Regions from separate parts of the Homo sapiens genome. Here regions 1, 2, 3, 4, 5 and 7 are each linked to region 6. The links are contacts of gene promoters, found by promoter capture Hi-C in blood cells and fetal thymus (Javierre and others, 2016). All regions are on one chromosome and are shown on one strand. The core of a region is centred on a gene start or on the middle of the fragment in contact, and the rest is flanking DNA. Distances in the headings are between cores, read along the strand shown. Region 1 overlaps PLXDC2 (plexin domain containing 2). Region 2 has its middle 7.8 kb from the start of TRDMT1. Region 3 overlaps TRDMT1 (tRNA aspartic acid methyltransferase 1). Region 4 has its middle 3.2 kb from the start of CUBN. Region 5 overlaps PLXDC2 (plexin domain containing 2). Region 6 holds the start of NSUN6 (NOP2/Sun RNA methyltransferase 6). Region 7 has its middle 29 kb from the start of VIM-AS1.

The links. The method cuts DNA at HindIII sites, captures the fragments that hold promoters and counts their contacts. A CHiCAGO score of 5 or more calls a contact.
Region 1: a contact is called between a fragment that was not itself captured here and the fragment with the promoter of NSUN6 in region 6, in 1 of 17 cell types (monocytes). The highest score is 6.3, in monocytes.
Region 2: a fragment that was not itself captured here is called in contact with the fragment with the promoter of NSUN6 in region 6 in 7 of 17 cell types (total CD4 T cells, total CD8 T cells, non-activated CD4 T cells and 4 more); the score reaches 12.3 in total CD4 T cells.
Region 3: a contact is called between a fragment that was not itself captured here and the fragment with the promoter of NSUN6 in region 6, in 4 of 17 cell types (total B cells, total CD8 T cells, non-activated CD4 T cells and 1 more). The highest score is 8.6, in total B cells.
Region 4: a fragment that was not itself captured here is called in contact with the fragment with the promoter of NSUN6 in region 6 in 1 of 17 cell types (activated CD4 T cells); the score reaches 7.3 in activated CD4 T cells.
Region 5: a contact is called between a fragment that was not itself captured here and the fragment with the promoter of NSUN6 in region 6, in 1 of 17 cell types (monocytes). The highest score is 6.3, in monocytes.
Region 7: a fragment that was not itself captured here is called in contact with the fragment with the promoter of NSUN6 in region 6 in 1 of 17 cell types (non-activated CD4 T cells); the score reaches 5.5 in non-activated CD4 T cells.

Annotation. Positions count from the first base shown.
Region 1 is chr10:20,131,199-20,133,898 of GRCh38, forward strand. The region is part of intron 4 of PLXDC2 (plexin domain containing 2); the gene reads left to right. Among named protein-coding and RNA genes, the nearest start is that of PLXDC2, 320 kb to the left of the region's middle. The HindIII fragment of the contact is 1,126 bases long and covers 693-1,818 here.
Region 2 is chr10:17,208,147-17,210,846 of GRCh38, forward strand. No RefSeq gene overlaps it. Among named protein-coding and RNA genes, the nearest start is that of TRDMT1, 7.8 kb to the left of the region's middle. The HindIII fragment of the contact is 6,585 bases long and covers 1-2,700 here.
Region 3 is chr10:17,186,618-17,189,335 of GRCh38, forward strand. All of the region lies in intron 1 of TRDMT1 (tRNA aspartic acid methyltransferase 1), which reads right to left. Among named protein-coding and RNA genes, the nearest start is that of TRDMT1, 14 kb to the right of the region's middle. The HindIII fragment of the contact is 6,870 bases long and covers 1-2,718 here.
Region 4 is chr10:17,131,684-17,134,383 of GRCh38, forward strand. No RefSeq gene overlaps it. Among named protein-coding and RNA genes, the nearest start is that of CUBN, 3.2 kb to the left of the region's middle. The HindIII fragment of the contact is 1,446 bases long and covers 687-2,132 here.
Region 5 is chr10:20,074,141-20,076,840 of GRCh38, forward strand. All of the region lies in intron 4 of PLXDC2 (plexin domain containing 2), which reads left to right. Among named protein-coding and RNA genes, the nearest start is that of PLXDC2, 260 kb to the left of the region's middle. The HindIII fragment of the contact is 4,019 bases long and covers 1-2,700 here.
Region 6 is chr10:18,650,130-18,652,836 of GRCh38, forward strand. NSUN6 (NOP2/Sun RNA methyltransferase 6) reads right to left here and starts at 1,458. Exons shown (of 11, transcript NM_182543.5): 1 at 1,000-1,458. The coding sequence starts at 1,074. RefSeq lists an enhancer at 1,598-1,697. The HindIII fragment of the contact is 3,002 bases long and covers 836-2,707 here.
Region 7 is chr10:17,257,313-17,260,012 of GRCh38, forward strand. No RefSeq gene overlaps it. Among named protein-coding and RNA genes, the nearest start is that of VIM-AS1, 29 kb to the left of the region's middle. The HindIII fragment of the contact is 8,535 bases long and covers 1-2,700 here.

The DNA.
Region 1 (2,700 bases), core at 6-2,505, 1.5 Mb after region 6:
TGTTCTGGTTTCTTTTATCCATATTTTCTATTCTATTTAGTGTTTCTGTACTGTTCTGTTCCGACGTGGTAATATGTATGTTTCCAGAAATTTATACACTGCTTCTAGGTTATCGAATTTGTTGGCATATAATTTTTATAGTAGTTTCTTCTGATATTTTATATTTATATGGTATCAATTGTAATCTCTTCTTTCACTTATAATTTTTTTTCTTTTTTGAGACAGAGTTTCACTCTTGTTGCCCAGGCTGGAGTGCAATGGTGCAATCTCAGTGCACTGCAACCTCCGCCTCCTGAGTTCGAGCAATTCTCCTGTCTCAGCCTCCCGAGTAGCTGGAATTATGGGCACATGCCACCATGCCCAGCTAATTTTTGTATTTTTAATAGAGACAGGGTTTCATCATATTGGTCAGGCTGGTCTTGAACTCCTGACCTCAGGTGATCCACCTGCCTCAGCCTCCCAAAGTGCTGGGATTACAGGCGTGAGCCACTGCACCCGGCCACTTACAGTTTTATTATTCTATTTTTTCTTAGTTTAACTAAAAGTTACTCTTTTGTTTATTTAGAAAAAAAACCCAACTCCTAGTTTCATTAATCTTTTGTATTGTTTTTTCTAGTCCCTATATCATTCATATATATTCTGATCTTTTTTATTTCCTTCCTTCTGCTAACTCTTTATTATATCCTTTCTTAAGCTTAGTTTGTTCTTGTTTCCTTGTTCCTTGAGGTGTCATATTAGGTTGCTTTTATGAAATCTTTCTTTTTTCTTCATGTAGGCATTTATTGCTATAAACTTACCCCTTAGGGCTGCTGTTGCTGCATCCCATAAAATTTGGAAAGTTATATTTGCATTTTTGTTTGTCTCAAGATATCTTTTAAGATCACTATTGATTTCTTCTTTGACTCATTGGTTGTTCAGAACTATGTTATTTAATTTTCACATATTTGCAAATGCTTCCAATTTTCCTCCTCTTATTGATTTCTAATTTCATTTCATCGTGGTCTGAAAAGATACTTGGTATTACTTAAATCTTCTTAAATCTGTGAAGACTTTTATTTGACCTAACGTGGATCTATCCTAACAAATATTCCATGTGCATTTGTAAAGAATGTATATTCTGCTGCTGTTGGATGAAACGTTCTATATATCTCTGTTAAATTCATTTGGTCTTCAGTCTTGTTCGTGTCTTCTGTATACTTATGGATTGTTTTTGTCTGGATGACCTATCCACTGCTGAAGGTGGCAATATTGAAGTCCTCTACTATTATTGTATTGGTGAACTATTTCTCCTTTTAGCTCTCTTAATATTTGCTTTATATATTTATGTTCTTAATATTGAGGGCATAACTATTTACAATTTTATGTCCTTTTGATGAATTGATATCTTTATCATTGTCTCTTGTGGCAGTTTTTGATTTAACATCTCTTTTGTCTGATATAGTTACGGCTACTCCTGCTCTCTTTTGGACTATTTTTGCAGGGACTATCTTTTTCCATCCTTTCACTTTCAGCATATGAGTGTCCTTAAAGCTAAGGTTAAGTCTTTTGTAAAGAACATATAGTTTGATCTTTAAAAAAAAAAAATCCATTCAACCACTATATGTCTTTTGATTGAAGAATGTAATCCATACATTTAAAGTAATTATTTACAGGTAAAGATTTACTATTGCCATTTTATTGTTTTCTATTTTATAGCCCTTTTCTTCTTTTCTTCCTCTCTTGTTGCCTTCTTTTTGATTTGATAATTTTTTGTCGTGATTTGCTTTAACTTCTTTATCTTTATGTCTACCATCAATTTTTCCTTCGTGGTTACCACTAAGCTTACATAAGACATCTTCAAGTCATAGCATATGTTTTAAACTGATAACAATGTAACTTCCTCCACATACAAAAACTACACTTTAACTTGTCTTCTCATATTTTTTGTAGATGACTTCACAATTTTATCTTTTTTATTATGTATTCATTAATAAATTATTATAGCTATATTTCCAATACCTTTGTCTTTAAACTTTTATACTAGAGTTAAAAGTGAGTTGTGGAGCACTATTGGAATATAAGAATAGCTGAGTGTGATTGCATTCTGACCTTTACAGTGAGTTTAATTCTTTCATATATTTTCGCGTTGTTAGTTTCTATCATTTCATTTCAACTTAAAGGTTCTCTTTACCATTTCTTGTGAGGTAGTCCTAATGGTGATGAACTCCCTCATCTTTTGTTTGTCTGGGAAATTCTGTCTCTCTTTTTCATTGTAAAAGTCAACTTGGCTAGTTATAGTATTCTTGGTCATTGCTGGTTTACTTTCAACACTTTGAATTTATTATTTGTCTCTCTTTTGCCCTATAAGGTTCCTGCTGAGAAACACCCTGGTAGCCTTACAGACCTTCCCTTTCATGTCATGAGTAGATTTTTGTCTTGCTGCTCTCAAATTTCTCGCTATGTCTTTGACTTCAGAGAATTTGTTAATAACATGTTTTTGTGATGATCTCTTTATGTCTAAACTACTTGGGATTCTTTGGGCGTCATGGATCTGAACGTTCATTTCTCTCTCCAGATTTGGGAAGTTTTCTGTTATTGTTTATGCATAATAAGCTTTTGCCTTTTCTCTTTCTCTGCTTCTTCTGGAACTCCCATAATGAATATATTGGTTCACTTAATGATGTCTCATAATTCCTGTAGGCTTTCTTTACTCTTTTAAAA
Region 2 (2,700 bases), core at 151-2,650, 1.4 Mb before region 6:
TATCTTACACTTATCTCAGAAGGAATAAAAAGAAAACATGTTTTTAAAAATTAGGATCATGAATCATGAATAAAGTTAATTATACATTTTCTGCCAAATAAAATAGAAACCATGCCGTTTGCCTCATACTTTACCATTTCAAACTACTCATAGATTTTTAACATGGATTTTGCTCTTGGAGGCTCATTCTGAAATTCTCAATTTAAAAATATTTTGCAGCAAATTTAAAAGATGATGTTTCAAAGTAAATATAGTGGGATCCATTCTTTAAAACTGCTTTCTTAACTTCACAGAAAATTAGAACTAGAAAGTATCTTAAGGACTATTTGATACACTGTTTTTTAAACTATTTTTAGAGATAAAGCCTTTTGTTCAAACCAAATCTCCTCTGGAATGGGGAGCAAAGATAGAGAGGTAGAGCAACAGCTACACTGTAACTTAGTATAAAAGATACTAAGTAGACTCAGTTGGTCCTGCCTGCTGCCCCTCTACACCCAGGCAAGGCCAGGGATCTAAACCAAAGCAATCATAGGAGCCACAATATGTCACTTCCTGAGAGCAGGCTGACCTGAGGACTGAGGGGAACTTCAGAGATCTATGAAGCAAACTTGATCTGATATGGTAATGCATGCTATAAAAGCCAGACAAAAATGTTAACATAGCTGCACAAAATAGAGACTATCTCAGAAACTAATGTTTAACATTGATAACAGATCCCCTGCCCAATCACTCCTGCAAAGACAGCTTGATACAGGACAAAGAATATGGTCCTTAGAACTAGATGGATTACCATGGATCCTGCCTCAAATACTCCCTTTCTTCACATATTAAACGGGAAATATTTGATAACAAGGTAACTGTGTGTGTATATATATATCATGTGTAAATAATTGTACACATATCAATTATATATGTGTACATATCAATATATACATATATCATTTATATGTGTACATACCTATATATACAATGTGTGTATATAGACAATGTATATATGTACATTTCAATATAAACACAATGTATATAAGTGTGTATATATGTATATATATCAGTATATACATATGTACACACACACACTGATAGATATATATCAATAATGTGCCTAGAACAATAAATACTGGTTTCCTTTCACTTTCTGAACAACTTTGTCATAATATAGAACCCATTTCTTCTAACAATAGGGAGAATTATTTTCCTAGTATGTTTTCATAAAGGGTATACTACCAAGAGATTAATTTGCATATTGCCTAACAAGATGTCTTTCTGTATTGTTTTCTATTATAGCCTTCAATCTTTTCAGGTGGAAAAACACGACCCATGTTGAGAATATAGGAGACAGAATTTAGTACCTTGGAGAGCTGTTAGTACTTTGCTCCTTTTCTCTTGTAATTTATCTGAACATTTAGAACTGCTCAAGGTAACCAAAGAACACAAATCAGACCTACTCACACCAGGAAAGGGAAAACACACATACACATACACACATACACAGGCACACACTCCTTCATAGTCTTTTTTCTGCATTGCTACATCATCAGAACTGATAAACTAAAACCCAGAAAAAATTCAAAGACAAAGACTTTTAATTTTACCCTACTTAGGTACTAGTTTAGGTAGACAACAGTATCACTTAGAATTGTTCTCATATGATCCAATAATGACAAATATAACTAAAATGTAATAACACTTTCATAGTACTGCCATGACTGTATCTATTCACTCTGTAAGAAAAAAACTTCCTATTATTTAAAATTATTAAAACGTTTCTTGTCAGTTTCAAGTCACTTACGTGAGCATATTACAACATACAAGCACATTTCATTTTTCAAACTTTCTCCTCTAGCCTCATGCTCTAGAGGCTGTCAACCTTTACTTTACAGAGTTAAACTTATTCCTGCAGATCAAGACTAAAATGTTTTATTTCCATCTAAGGTAATTACTGCTAAGTTAAAATGTATAAATCCTCCAATGGGATTGGTACTATGTTTAGTCACTCAGAGAATACTGGCTGATGAAAATAGACCACATTCCAAAAGACAGAAAAAGTATGTTTGACTAATAGGAAAATAATAATAACACAATAATGACTTGTATGTTTCAAATAACTTTATAAATGTTTAAAATGCTTATTAACCCATTTTAGACCTATCGGCTTTTCTTTCTTAATATTCACTTTTTTACAAATAAAAAGTAGAAAACTTCATGTCATTTGCTCAAAGTCACATAAGTTAACATTCTGCAGGTTAACAGATTTATTTGCAAATCACACAAACATATTTTTAAAAGAAGGGAATTTAGACGATAACACTAGTTTTTTGAGGAAAAAATAGGCTGGAACTCATCAAATAAAAATGAAAGGGAGTTAGTATATATTTGAGGAAGGATTTCATATTAGGAGTTAGACAGGATTCTGGTTAGGAAAGAATGTCAGGAATCTGCATGTCTTTTTTTTTTTTTCTCCTTTCATTTTAGGACCAAATCCTAGAATAGAGTGAAAAAAGAATGCAACAAACAGCATTATTTATATATCTTTGCACAGTTTTAAAATCAAAAAGCAGTTTTATCGTGTTACTTGTTCCCTCGAGAGATGAGGCATTATTATTTGGAAAATAAATTTTTGATTATCACCTAAAGTGAAAGGGACTTAATAAACAAACATTGGAAAAGCCCAAAGTACTGAAAGCTCAATATAACTGCAAG
Region 3 (2,718 bases), core at 127-2,626, 1.5 Mb before region 6:
GATAATAAACCTGTGTTGCTTTAAGCTACTAAGTTTATGTTTGTTACAACAGCAATAGGAAACTCATACATAGATAATAATTAGAGATGTAAAGAAAATATTTATATATAGGATAAGTGATGCTATTTTATTTATAATAGTGCAAATTTATGAATGATCTGAATGTCCCAGAATAGATGATTAATTCGAACAAATACTGTACTTTCATAAAGTGGAGTATGATACAACCATTAAAAGTTTATAAATTCTACATTTAATGGCAAGCGAAAATATTCAAGATATTCTAAGTAAAGAAAGAAAGCTATAATTTATTTTAATGTTCATGGTCACATTAGAATAAAGATTTTAATCTAAGCCTTCACCAGTGTTTATGTCTTCACCAGTGTTATGTCAGTGTTTATGCATTAGCATCATTGGTGAGTTTTTTAAATTTTCTTCTCTATTTGTGTAGCATTGGTATTGCCCAGTAGAGCAAAATCTCTGGAAAAAGGAACATGACTGTCTCGTTCAATGCTGTATCCTCACCATACAACACAGTAAGCAACAAAGAAAAATCACTCCATAGTTATGTACTGAATAAATGAATATTTTCAGTGTGTCCCAATTTTTTAACAAATGTATTACTAATATTGCTAAAAATAAAAAACAAGAAATGCACATAATAATAATTTTTAAATATTCAACTTCACTAGTAATCAAAAATTAAGATAACAATTTCACCTAGTAAATTATATGGGTTAACATATTATATTGGCATATTTATGGTCACAGAGACGTTACTGAATATAAACTAGTATGTCCTTTTAAAAAAATAATTTGACAATCATCAACAACCTTTAAAATGTTCATGTACTATAGCTTATTCATTAATTCTACAAATATTTGTTGAGCATCCAACATACAATGGTGCTTTTAGATCCAAGGATACAGTGGTGAACAAAATAGAACAAAATGCAACAAAAAAATCCCACCCTCAAGGAGCTTACATTCTAGAAGAGGAGGCAGTCAATTTTAAAGATAAACAAGTACAATACAAAATATGATAGGCAGTAATAAGTGTTAAAGTGAAAAACAAAACAGGCCAGAGGATAGGGAGGCAGGGCAGAGGATACAAGTTTTGGTACTGAGAACAGTTCACTGTGCATCTTTCCTGACCTTTTTCTGTGTCTAAACACAAATACATTACACACATACCCACTGTATGTGCCCAAACATAAGACAACTAGAATAAACGTTAATCCCCTATTTTCCCCATGAAAATATCCAAAATTAGATTTCTGGCCATTTTCATTATATAAATGTTTAAGGATGTAGCCAAAATAGTCAAATGACTTCATATTGTATAATTTATAATTTAAACATACTTTATTTTTTATATTCAGTTTAATTACTATTTTTACATTAAAATTAAGTTCTACATTAGTAAACTTAATTTTACTAATGTTTTACATTAGTAAAACAAACTCTGTTTTTTGAACTTTTTTTTAACTGGCATGAAGAATTACAGCTCTTAGGTGTTAACATGGGAAGGGAAAAGGGTATTTATCCCATTTAACAGGTCTGGCTAGCTTGTATTCAATAAATATGTGCTTGAAGAAGCCATCTGAGGTAATCTTTAGGATCTGTTATGAATTTATAAAGATATAATTCCAGGTAATATCTTTAAAAAATAGAGAAAGGATTTATCCCCTGACTACTGAACGGGACAATGCTTATGAAAACCTTTTACCAACCCTGTCAAGTGTTTATTCATGCTCTGCAAAATATTTTCAGCAAGTATTTCCTGTGAGTTTATAACCAGGTTCATTTATGAATTCAAGACATATTTATTGAGCATGACTGACGCTGGCGCTGGCTCTGGCTCCAGGCAGAGATGATAAAACAACGAATCCCTGCTCCCACAGAGCTTCACACAAGGAGAAGCCTCCAACATATTTTATACAGCACTATCTTAGCATGTTCATTTGGAAATATTGTATATTTTCTACTCAAAGTTCATGAAATGATTTTATTCTACTTTCTCATGTGCCTCTTTGAAATCAGGGTCACTATCATCAACAGAGCCACCTTTTAAATCATCTAACAGTGTTCAAGGACACACCAACTTTCCTTCAGTCAGAGTTACTTGAGAACTAGCCCTTTTTGAGTTCGTGTATAATGATGTCACTGGAAATTTTATGCCCACCACAAATACCCAGTAGCTATTTGTGATTTCCGCGAAGTAATCACCTACTGTATTGCTTTATAAAGTAATTTTCAAAAGGCTTGTTTACAATAACATCCAACACTTGTAATTGTGAGGTCATCCTCCTAAAAATTACTTCTAGATCTTTAAATTCATTTCTATGGTTTCTGGCCAATTCCATTGAGTGACCTCAATAAGCATCTAGAAATGATATTAAGTTTCTTCAGGCTAATGTAGTTTATCCAAGCAGTACTTTATTGATTTGCTATTTTTGAAAAGTTTAGTAATTGAGTAATATGAAGAGATTTCCTTTCAGAAGACTAAATTATAAGGCCATACTCTCTTTCTGAAGTATAATTTTTCAGGTAAAATGAATATCTCATATAGAAGAATTTATGCCAAACATGTCTATAAGAGTGTATGTATATATATTTGTATTTTGTTTTTGTTCTTAGTTAAAATACTGGGATCACAAGCGTTTTGAATTTACAGTCATGAAGGAAATGCAAAAGATGATGTCTTCATAGCGAAAA
Region 4 (2,700 bases), core at 160-2,659, 1.5 Mb before region 6:
CCTAATGACCAAAGATGTTGGGCATCTTTTTATGTATATTTGCCATTTGTTTATCTTCTTCGGTGAACTGTCTGTTTAGATATTTTGCCTATTTTTTAAAATTTTGTTGTTTGTCTTTTATTGATTGTAAGAGCTCATATATTCTAGATACAAGAATTTTCAAATACGTATTTTGCAAATATTTTTCTGCCAACCTGTGGCAAGTCATTTTGCTTGCTTAAAAATATTTTTCAAGGACAACAATAAGACACAAAAGACTACTTCCTAAGTGATTCTATATCACATGATTCCATATGAAAATCTAAAAAAGCCAAAACTACACTGATTGATAGACAACAAATCAGAGGCCAGGGGTTGGGGAGGAGATTGATCGCAAGGAGGCATGAGGGAATATTTAAGGGTGATGAAAATGTTCTGTATCATGATTGTGATTGTGGTTGCATGACTGTATAAATTTGTCAAAACTCATAAAGCTGTATAGTTAAAATAGATAATCTTTGGCAGATGTAAATTACAGCACAATAAAACTGATTAAAATTATTTCTCTTCTATATTTGTAAATGTCTTCATATATCAGGATGATACAAAATATTAATTTGGTATTAAACTAAATGCTAAGAAAAGATATCCAATAGCCTTTACATCAATAGAGATGAAATTTATCATAATAAATTTGTTTATTTGAAAGCTTAACAACTTGGCATGGGGTGGAGGGAAAGTTTGACAATATGAAATTTTTGGCAAGTTTAGAATAGGATAAAATAGTCTGGGCTAGAATCTTCCAATCAAAAGGATAATTCAAACTCTCTGAGCTCTGGACGTAACTATTTTCATGATTATACTTTCTTAAAGACCACTGAACTCAGCTAATCTTTCCAGTGCAATAGAAAAGGCCTCCAGCATGATCTTAATAAGGACTTCCTCTTTGACAGGATTTTCCTGTTTTGTTAATTAATGTGTTTATTACTCAACAAAGTAAAGATAATCTCTCAGCTCCCAATCTAAGCATTCAATTGCTCATTGTCACCCATGTTAGAAAAAAAAAAGAAAGTAACCGTCGTTCAAGGTCTGACTGACTTTTAGTGATGAGTTAGGGAATTTTACATCCAGCTCATTCACTCAACTCTAGCTCAGATCAATAGGCAAGTCAGACTGTCTGCATATGTTGACTCTGTGAAAAGCAATATAAAAATCAATTGCTGTTTCCAAGGGATTGGCACTCATTCTGTTTACTTACTCTATTCAGAAATACTTCAGGAAAGATGAATTAAAGTAGTTTTAGAATCTATGACCTTCAGATCTATATGGTAGATAACCTCTCTTCTTCTCCTCTCCCAAGGTAAACATTCTATAGACCTGAAATTCTATCTTTCATTGACTAGTAAAACTCCTGTCTCTTCCCTAATCTAGAATGCATTCCCCTAATATTCTGCATGTGCCCTTTACATATTAGCCATCTATAAGATGATAGGAACACGAAATGTAGTAAATTGCAGATTCTTCCCTCTGAAGCCTCCAGTCTAGGGAAGACCACATGGTTGAAGGTTAAGAACACGGGCCTGAAGCTCATTTATGTGCGTTCAAAGTCTGACTCCATCACTTACTGACCATGGAACCTTGTTTTTTCATCAGCAGACAGATAATAACAGCACTGAAGTTATGTAAAATGTTTAGCACATTAGGTTACTGGCACAAAATAAGTGTTCATTAAATATAAGCTGTTATCAATATCATGTAAAGAAATATAATAATCCTCACCCTCCTGTATCCTCTCTTGGGTTTAGATTCCTTAAAAGAAAAAATGACAAAAAGAATTCACAGCTGTCTTTATAATCTTGGGTACAAGGAGAAGCAAGGGTGTCTGATCATTTCTCCTATAAAAGAGGATTTCAGAGCAGAGAGATGAATTGGGGACTTTGAGTGAGGAAGACGATTGCTGACCTGGAGTTAAAGGTGTGAGGCAAAGGTAACTGATGTCTAAGAACAAGGCAAGGTGACTCCAGGAAGCACAGAACAACTCCACATTGGTGGGTGGAGAGCAAGATTCCATTTAAATCCAAGAGTTTTGAAGAGCAGGCAATCCAAAAGAAACGGTATCATCCTTGAGTGGAACTGAGTAACCAGGGTGAGGAAGCTTTTATATGGGGTGCTAGCAATGGAGCCCTCGGACAGGGAGGATCTGCTCTGGGGGCTGCTCAGTGTTTGGAGGAGGGCACCTAGTTGGAGAGTTTACCTAAGGAACCCTTATGCACATTTGTACGCATTCATTAAAATAAAACCCTTAGGGCCCGGCGCGGTGGCTCAAACCTGTAATCCCAGCACTTTGGGAGGCCGAGGCGGGTGGATCACGAGGTCAGGAGATGGAGACCATCCTGGCTAACACGGTGAAACCCCGTCTGTACTAAAAATACAAAAAATCAGCTGGGCGTGGTGGTGGGCGCCTGTAGTACCAGCTACTCAGGAGGCTGAGGCAGGAGAATGGCTTGAACCCGGGAAGCGGAGCTTGCAGTGAGCTGAGATCATGCCACTGCCCTCCAGCCTGGGTGACAGAGTGAGACTCTGTCTCAAAAAATAAAAATAAAATAAAATAATAAAAAATAAATAAAACCCTTAGGTCAGAACACTGATAACATTAATGGCATGTTGTAGACTTTAAGTTTATAATGGTGTCTGCTGTACTGTTGATTTCCACTCATCAGC
Region 5 (2,700 bases), core at 186-2,685, 1.4 Mb after region 6:
TATGAATTTAAAAGCTAATAATGAATGTGTATTACTTACCTTGATCATAGGAAGAATTTGCCTTCCCTTTCTACACAGGTTTCTACTTACAGATTTCATAAGAAAGCTGTTTAAATTTTAGCTCTATTTTATTTCATTTGCTACGTAAAAGATTAAAATGTTTATTAAGTAATACCTGTACATATCTGAAAAACTAATAACGTGGACATTTAACAAGTCAAACAGGCAAAAGTAAAATGTAAATCTCCCTTCTTCCTTTGTCTCTTAGTTCACCAGTTTCCCTCCCAAAAAAAAATACCTTACTTTTTGAGGTATGGTATATTAAAATTCAAACTTAGAGTAGTTTCCTATATCTGGCCAATAATCATTAGCTTTTTTTCTGTTTAAATTCCCACTAAGAGAGATTTTTTAAAAATATTAATGCATTTTATCTTCATTAGCTTTTCAGGAAATATATTACCAAATCTCCCTGCTCCTTTTTTGTTCTGGCTTTCAAATGGTAATATTTTAATTGTAGTCCCAAATAATATTTCATACTCTTTATAGGGACTTGATTAATAACAGGAATAAAAGGCTTTTTAGGAGAGGAAGATAGTTATTACTCATGATGATTGATTTGTAAATACCAACAACATCTTCTTTCAAGTGTATAACCCCATAAAACAAAGCATGGTGTATCCATTAACTTTCTGCATCTAGGGAGAAGGTGAATGGAGTTGTTTTGTATTATTATTATTATTAACAGAGATCACAGGTTATGGTAATCTGGAGATCTATGTGTTATGGAAGATACTAAAGAGATAGATGCTGGATGAAAGTAAATTCATTCCAACTTGCTTCAATGATTTAAAGTTACAAACTCAAGTCTCAAGGATTCCTAGAGAGAAAGATGAATTGCGTGATGTCTGATCTGCTGAATCTGAATAATTCTCTGAGATAGACCTCCAAAAACCTGAGAGTTCATCTGAGCTGTCTTCTTTGATAACTTACTCCTCCCTCAAACTGTCTAGTGTCAGCAGTAGATTCAGTAGCTTGACCATTATTATATATTTATTTCTTTATTTTGTAGACAGGATCTCACTCTGTCACCCAAGCTGGAGTGCAGTGGCACAATCACAGCTCACTGCAGCCTTGACCTCCTAGGCTCAAGTGATCCTCCCACTTCAGCTCCCCAAATAGCTGGGACTACAGGCATGCACCACCATGCCTGGCCAATTTTTAGATTTTTTTGTAGAGATGGAGTCTCATTATGTTGTCCAGGCTGATCTCAAACTCCTAGCCTCTAGCAATCCTCCCATCTCAGCCTCCAAAAGTGCTGGGATTACAGGTGTGAGACACTGCGCCAAGCTATGTTGTTTTGTCTTTCACGAATTTCATATTCACAACCACTTGTTTCTCCTGCATGTCTGTCCATACATGCTTTATTTCATTAGCACTGGCTCCTTGTGGCAGGGGTGGGAAGCATAATTGGAAATTAAGCCAGTAGGAGACCCAGAGAGAAAGCACCCAGGAGCAAGAGTTGACTCAATAGGAATCAGCAAGAAAAATACAAGAGACAGAAATATGGGTAGAATGAAGGAGAACAATTAGATGTAAACAAAACTGAGCAGAGCATTGGCACATGATGGATAAGTCATGATTTTAGGACAGGAATGGGGGAAGGTGGATCAGCTGAGACAAGGGTGTGGGTGAAAAACATGGTCTCCAGGCTCATCCCCTTCCATTGCCATAACAGCCACTGAAGTGTCCACTGATTGCTAGTGCTAGAATACTCCCTTACGGATGTTTATACCAGGAAAGCATCATTCATCTTCTTCCAGCACATCCAGGCTTTATTGGAAACACTGGCAATGATATTTTTGCTTGTAGCCTTTCCTAGTCACTGCAGCAGTAATTCAGATAAATAGCAATTTTACACAGATCCTGAAATACATCACCCAATTGAAAATAAAGGGTGTCTAAGTGACTCTGTGCAATTAATAAAGTAACAATATATGCCAGATGCTCTAACATTGTCGAATCCTGGAAAGTAAAGGAAAGAAATAGTAAATAGTGCAGGACTGACATTAGACCCTGGCCATTTCAGAAATGAGTTCAAAAGAGTTCCCTCAATTCCTACTTAAGCCAGAAATTGAGTTGCATTTTCTTAGAGAAGAAGTTAGGCTTCCAGGTTAAGATAAATAGACTTTTGAATCTGAATACTTCAGTTCATAAGCCAAGGCAATCGTAACTGTATGATCTTCAGCAAATGACTTAATCTCTCTGATGTCAGTTTCCTTGCCTATAAAATAGCACAATAAAAATACCTGGTGCATAAATTTGTTGTGATGACTAAATTAATTAACATATGTTAATGATACCTGTTTCATAGAAAATGCTACATAGATAGCATATGCTAATACTGCATTTTTCCCCCACTTACATTTCCTCCTTTATTTCTTTTCAAAGTGCTTTCTCTTTAAGTCCTGTGCTGCCTTTTTAGTTTGTCTGTTGTTTCCTTTGATGACCTCATTCATTAGATTTCTCTCCATAAAGCATAGAAGGGGTCTCAAGGAGTGTTTAGGAACCTAATCCATTGTCATCTCTAACTGCTCCTATTAAAGGCTGGCTCAACCACTGATGTCTGGGAAGTAGAATAGCATGTAAATAACTTGGGATGTCCGCTTGATCACCATGGCTATACCTATCATTTTTTGGTGC
Region 6 (2,707 bases), core at 208-2,707:
GCACTGCCAATTGCAAACAAAATTAACATTTTTTGAAGACTTACATGCCAAAACAATGCAAGTTGTTTTCATTTACGTTTAATATCCTAAAACAACCTGGTAAAATATTTTTAACTTGACTAAAAAATTAAAGATTTGAAAAAAAACAAAGTTGCTTAGAGGCAGCATGGTAAAATGGAATAGACAACAGGCTTTGCAATCAAAGATAATCAACATTTACTGAGGACTTTAGCAAATAAAATTAACATTTTTTGAGGACTTACATGCCAAAACAATGCTAGTTGTATTCACTTACGTTTAATATCCTAAAACAACCTGGCAAGATATTTTTAACCATTCTCAATTTTTCACAGAAGAGAAAAATCTAGGTTAAGCCACGTAATTTACAAAGCACTAGAATGCAAATCATGTGCCTGAGATTCAAAAGCTGTACCTTTGTTCATTACACCTGAACTCTTTCCCTCCAGATTTCAATAGTTACTTGATAGCTGTGTCAACTTGGATCAGTTACACAATTCCTTGAGCAGTTTTCTGCTCAAGTCTATTAAAAGAGGAAAAACCTCTAAGAAAAAAAAGATTGTGAAGATTAAAGATGCAAATCTCCTAGCACAACTGCTGGCATTTAAGAGGCACTCAACAAATTACAGAAACCTTTTCACCTGAGTGCCAGAGCCAGCGCTCTTTTAAAATTCGATTCGAGTTCTTGAAGACAGGGACCTTTTCTTGTTCATCCTTGTAACCCTTTGTGCCATGCCTGACAGGCACATGCCTTTTTTCCCTTCTTTTCCACTCCTAAATGTTAAAACATATACCTTATTCACTTCGTATCTCAGTAAGCTTTAATACCTGTAGAAACATATTGGTATTTTTACACTTGATAGACAAGTAGTAAGGAACGACGGCTGTCAAGATTTCCCTTTATACTTATTTCTATTTCTCTCGAGTGTGCGAATATTTGAGTTTTTGCAAAATATCAACTAACATCTTTACTTGACCTACCTCCTTATTCATAAAGCCTTCCTTAAGATAGTTTTCAACCTCAGGTCTCAAAGATATCTTAGGGAAAATAGACATTTTTCCTGTTGTTTAGTTCTCCACCAAGAGAAATGCTGGAAAACGGTGTTTTGTTTTTTTTTTTCTTTCCGAATTAATAGTGACGAGTGTCTTGACACCAGATGCTGAGGAAAATCTTGCCGATCACGCTGAGTTAATTTCGGAAATGCAGAGGTACACGCTTTCTCAAGCCTAGCCGATTAGAAGGGGCTGCCGGGCTTCCACCACACCTCATCGAGGCAATGTTTTCTGGTAGAGATGCTCATGGAAATCACTGAGCCAATGCCACTCACGTTGCAAAGAACCAAAAAAAGAAAAAAATGCTTAGTAACTGAATCCGTGGTGAAACGGACGCAGATCAGTAAGCCAGGCTGACAGCAGCTCGGTCCCTTTATCTTTTCTATCAATTTCCAAACACGCGCCCCCTATTTCTCGGCGGAAAGTCGCTTCCGGCTTACGTCACGTCCGGCGCCTGCGGCCCACCCCTCCCTTTCCGGTCCCCCAATCCACAGCCGCAAGTTTCCCCAACACTGCGTTACGCTACGCCACGCCCCCGGAGGTTCCTAACCCTGCGTGAGGCTCTTTCACCTGCCTCAGGTTAAGTAGGCAGACCCCGCGGGCGGGATGGTCAAAGATATTTAGTTCCCGGTACCGGAGGGCTAGGTGCCAGGGGCAATGGGGAAACAGCCAAATGGCGTGGGTTGAGTGGAAGATGTTGCTGGACTGAAAAAAGGCACAGCCCAGTTGCTGTCCTGCCAGATGTCCTCCAGTTAGAGGATGAGGCCAGAATTTGGGCGCATCAGCCACCGTTTGATTTCATGACATGATTTTACCTCTCTCAGGCATACAGATCTGACTTCAGTTGTGAAGTTCATAGGGTTCATATTTTTGAAAGTTGGGCTAATGGTCTGTTAATATCCAATGCTCAGGTAAAACTTAAAACCCACAGACAGTGTTTACAGTTAGTTATAAGGCTAACTGCTACTTGTATCATAGTTGACATATTCTTTAGAGTTTGGAAGACCCTCGCCATTATTTTTTTTTCTTTTTTTTCATCATAAGCAGACAAGGATATAGATTCAAAGAACGAGGATATCTAACCAAACTCACTGAGTCATTTTATAACTGTACAGGAAAGTCAAAATAATTCTATCACCTTGACATATGTTTTTTGCAGCACACCATGGTAATTTACACATAAGTATAGGAAAGGGTTTTTTATTGTTTTTTTCTCTTTAATTTTCACACCGAATTATACACACAGACACACACACATAGAACAGGTACTTTCCATGACACACCAACTCTTTACCAGAAAGAGTAGAAAATAATGAATGACCATTATACCACACAACAACCTGCAAGTTGTTTATCATTTTCTCTGCTCTTTTTTTTTTTTTTTTTTTGAGTCTCTGTCGCCCAGACTGGAGTGGAATGGTGGGATCTCGACTCACTGCAACCTCCACCTCCTGGTTCAAGAGATTCTCCTGCCTTGGCCTCCCGAGTAGCTAAAATTACAGGCATGTGCCACCAGGCCCAGCTAATCTTTGTAATTTTAATAGAGACGGGGTTTCACCATGCTGGCCAGGCTGGTCTCAAACTCCTGACTTCAACTGATCTGACTCTCTAGCCTCCCAAAGTGCTGGGATTACAG
Region 7 (2,700 bases), core at 34-2,533, 1.4 Mb before region 6:
AAGTGAGCTATCCTTCCTGCTTACTTCTGCCTTTTTTTCTTCAAAGGGCAATCCTTTTTGAATTGGCATTTAGCATGGTAGTATTAGGTTGGGGGAAAAAATCGTGTTTTTTTGCCATTAAAAGTAATAGCAATAACTTTCGCCCCAACGTAATAGTTGCTTCATTCCTGGAGAGTGGGATCTGCTTGGTTTACCAGCCAGAGGGCTTGACAAAATCTGACTTTAGTGTCTTCGAATGTCCTTTTCTAACATCTGCACAGAAATATCTTCATGGGAGAAAATCATCTTTTTCATTAAAAAATGTCAGTGTGGGAGTATGGGGAGAGGAAATAGGGAGAGAAAGAGAAGGAAAGAGGCGCACACATACAGAGACAGAGAGAGACAGGGAGAGAGAGAGGGCAAGAGAGTACTGCCTTGGGGTCACTAACACCCTTGAAGATATCTCAGAAGATTGTTCCAACCAAGTAAAAATGTAGACAAAAAGTCGCCGCTCCTTCTTCAGACACAACGGATCTTGTGAAGAGCCTGGTAGGGCAAAAACTTGAGAGGCCATTGTGGTGTCCAAAGAAATACTGACATCTACTGGTGGGTTCGGAAGTCACAGGACTTTTCCAAGGGCCACATTTAGTTGCACGGAATTGAAAGTATTAAAATCCAGTGGATACAATTAGGCATTCCTGAGGATCCCTTCTAAATAAATTTTTAAAATTAACTTATGACCATCAAGAGCATTTCTGAATTGTCTGTTCTTTAATCCACCAGATAGATAATCATTGACTTAGTCTCTGTACCTGAAATATTTCACACAGTCCAGGGAAGAGTAAAATGAACAAAATTCCTTTCTCTTTATGACCCCAGGACCTACCTCATCAAAAACGGTGCTTTGAAAAACAGCAAGAAGAATGGGAAGCAATATTGCTCAGTCAGAAGATAAACCTGTGTTCACATCCAGGAACTTTCATTTATTGGCTGTGTAATTTCTACCAAGTTACTTTGTCTCCCAAATCTCATTCTTTCTCAGCTGGAAATGAGAATTGAGGATACCTGCCCTGAATGACTCTGTCAGTAATTAGAGACCACGAACTCAAAGTGCCTGTGGTTCACATTACACACTGAGTAATTGCCGGGCGCGGTGGCTCACACCTGTAATCCTAGCACTTTGGGAGGCCGAGGCGGGTGGATCACCTGAGGTCAGGTAGTCGAGACAAGCCTGACCAACATGGTGAAACCCCATCTCTACTAAAAATACAAAAATTAGCTGGGTGTGGTGGCATGCACCTGTAGCCCCAGCTACTCAGGAGGCTGGGGCAGGAGAATTGCTTGAACCTGGGAAGTGGAGGTTGCAGTGAGCTGAGATGGCACTACTGCACTCCAGTCTGGGCGACAAAGCAACGCTCCATCTCAAAAAAAAAACAAAAACAAACAAATAAAAGAAACAAAAAAACTCAGTAATGGGATTGTTGTTACATTTAAAGGATAGAAACATCCTGGGACCACTTGCTTCTTGATTGACCAAGCTGTGATTTAGGAGAGTACTTCTCAAACTTTAATTTGCACTCGACTCACTAGGGAATCTTGTTAAAATGAAGGTTCTGTTTCAGCTGCCAAGGGCGGGGCCTGAGATACTGCATCTCCAGCAAGCTCCCAAGAGATATTGATATGCTGGCCTGGGACAGCACTGAGTAGCAAGAATCTGTGGGGTCCAATCCCCACTAGAGGTCAAGAGCATTGAGGTGGCCCCTGTCAATTGGCTTCCTATGTGAGGGGAAATAGCTCTCAAAATTTCAGTTGTTTCAAAGTATAAACAAAGTGTACATAAGAAAATTGCCAGGAAAGATGGGTTTGCCTAATGTAGAAACACTAAAAATTGGCCGGGTACAGTGGCTCACACCTGTAATCCCAGCACTTTGGGAAGCCAAGGTGGGTGGATCACCTGAGGTCAGGAGTTCAAGACCATCCTGGCCAACATGGCGAAACCCCATCTCTATTAAAAATACAAAAAAACATTAGCTAGGCATGGTGGCACGTGCCTGTAGTCCCAGCTACTCGGGAAGCTGAGGCAGGAGAATCGCTTCAACCCGGGAGGTGGAAGTTGCACTTAGCCGAGATTGCACCACGGCACTCCAGCCTGGGCAACAGAGCAAGAGACTCTCTCTCCAAATAAATAAATAAATAAATACTAAAAATTTACTTCACACCCATTCCCAATATACAGATTCTACTTATCATGATAGAGAAGAGGTGTTTGGGTTCTGAATCAGAAATGCCCCCATAGGTTAGACATGGTAGGTCACACCTGCAATCCTAGCACTTTGGGGGGCTGAAGTGGGAAGATTACTCGAGCCCTGGAGTTTGAGACCAGGCTAGTCAATGTAGCGAGATCCTATCTCTACAAAAATTTTAAAATTAGCCAGGTGTGGTGGTGCATGCCTGTAGTCCCAGCTACTCAGGAGGCTGAGGTGGGAGGATCGCCTGAGCCCAGAAGTTCATGGTTGCTCCAGCTAGGGTGACAGAATGAAATCCCAGTAGTTAATTTATTCTGTTTCAGCTTTAGGCTTTCTGTAGAATCTGGCAATGGCAAGCAATTAAGCTAAGGGGATCTGGAGTCACAGGTGAATTTGCATCCTGACTCGGTAACTTGCCATCTGCCAGGTCATAGACAACTTCCTTAACTTTTCTAGGCCTCAGATTTCTCAGAGT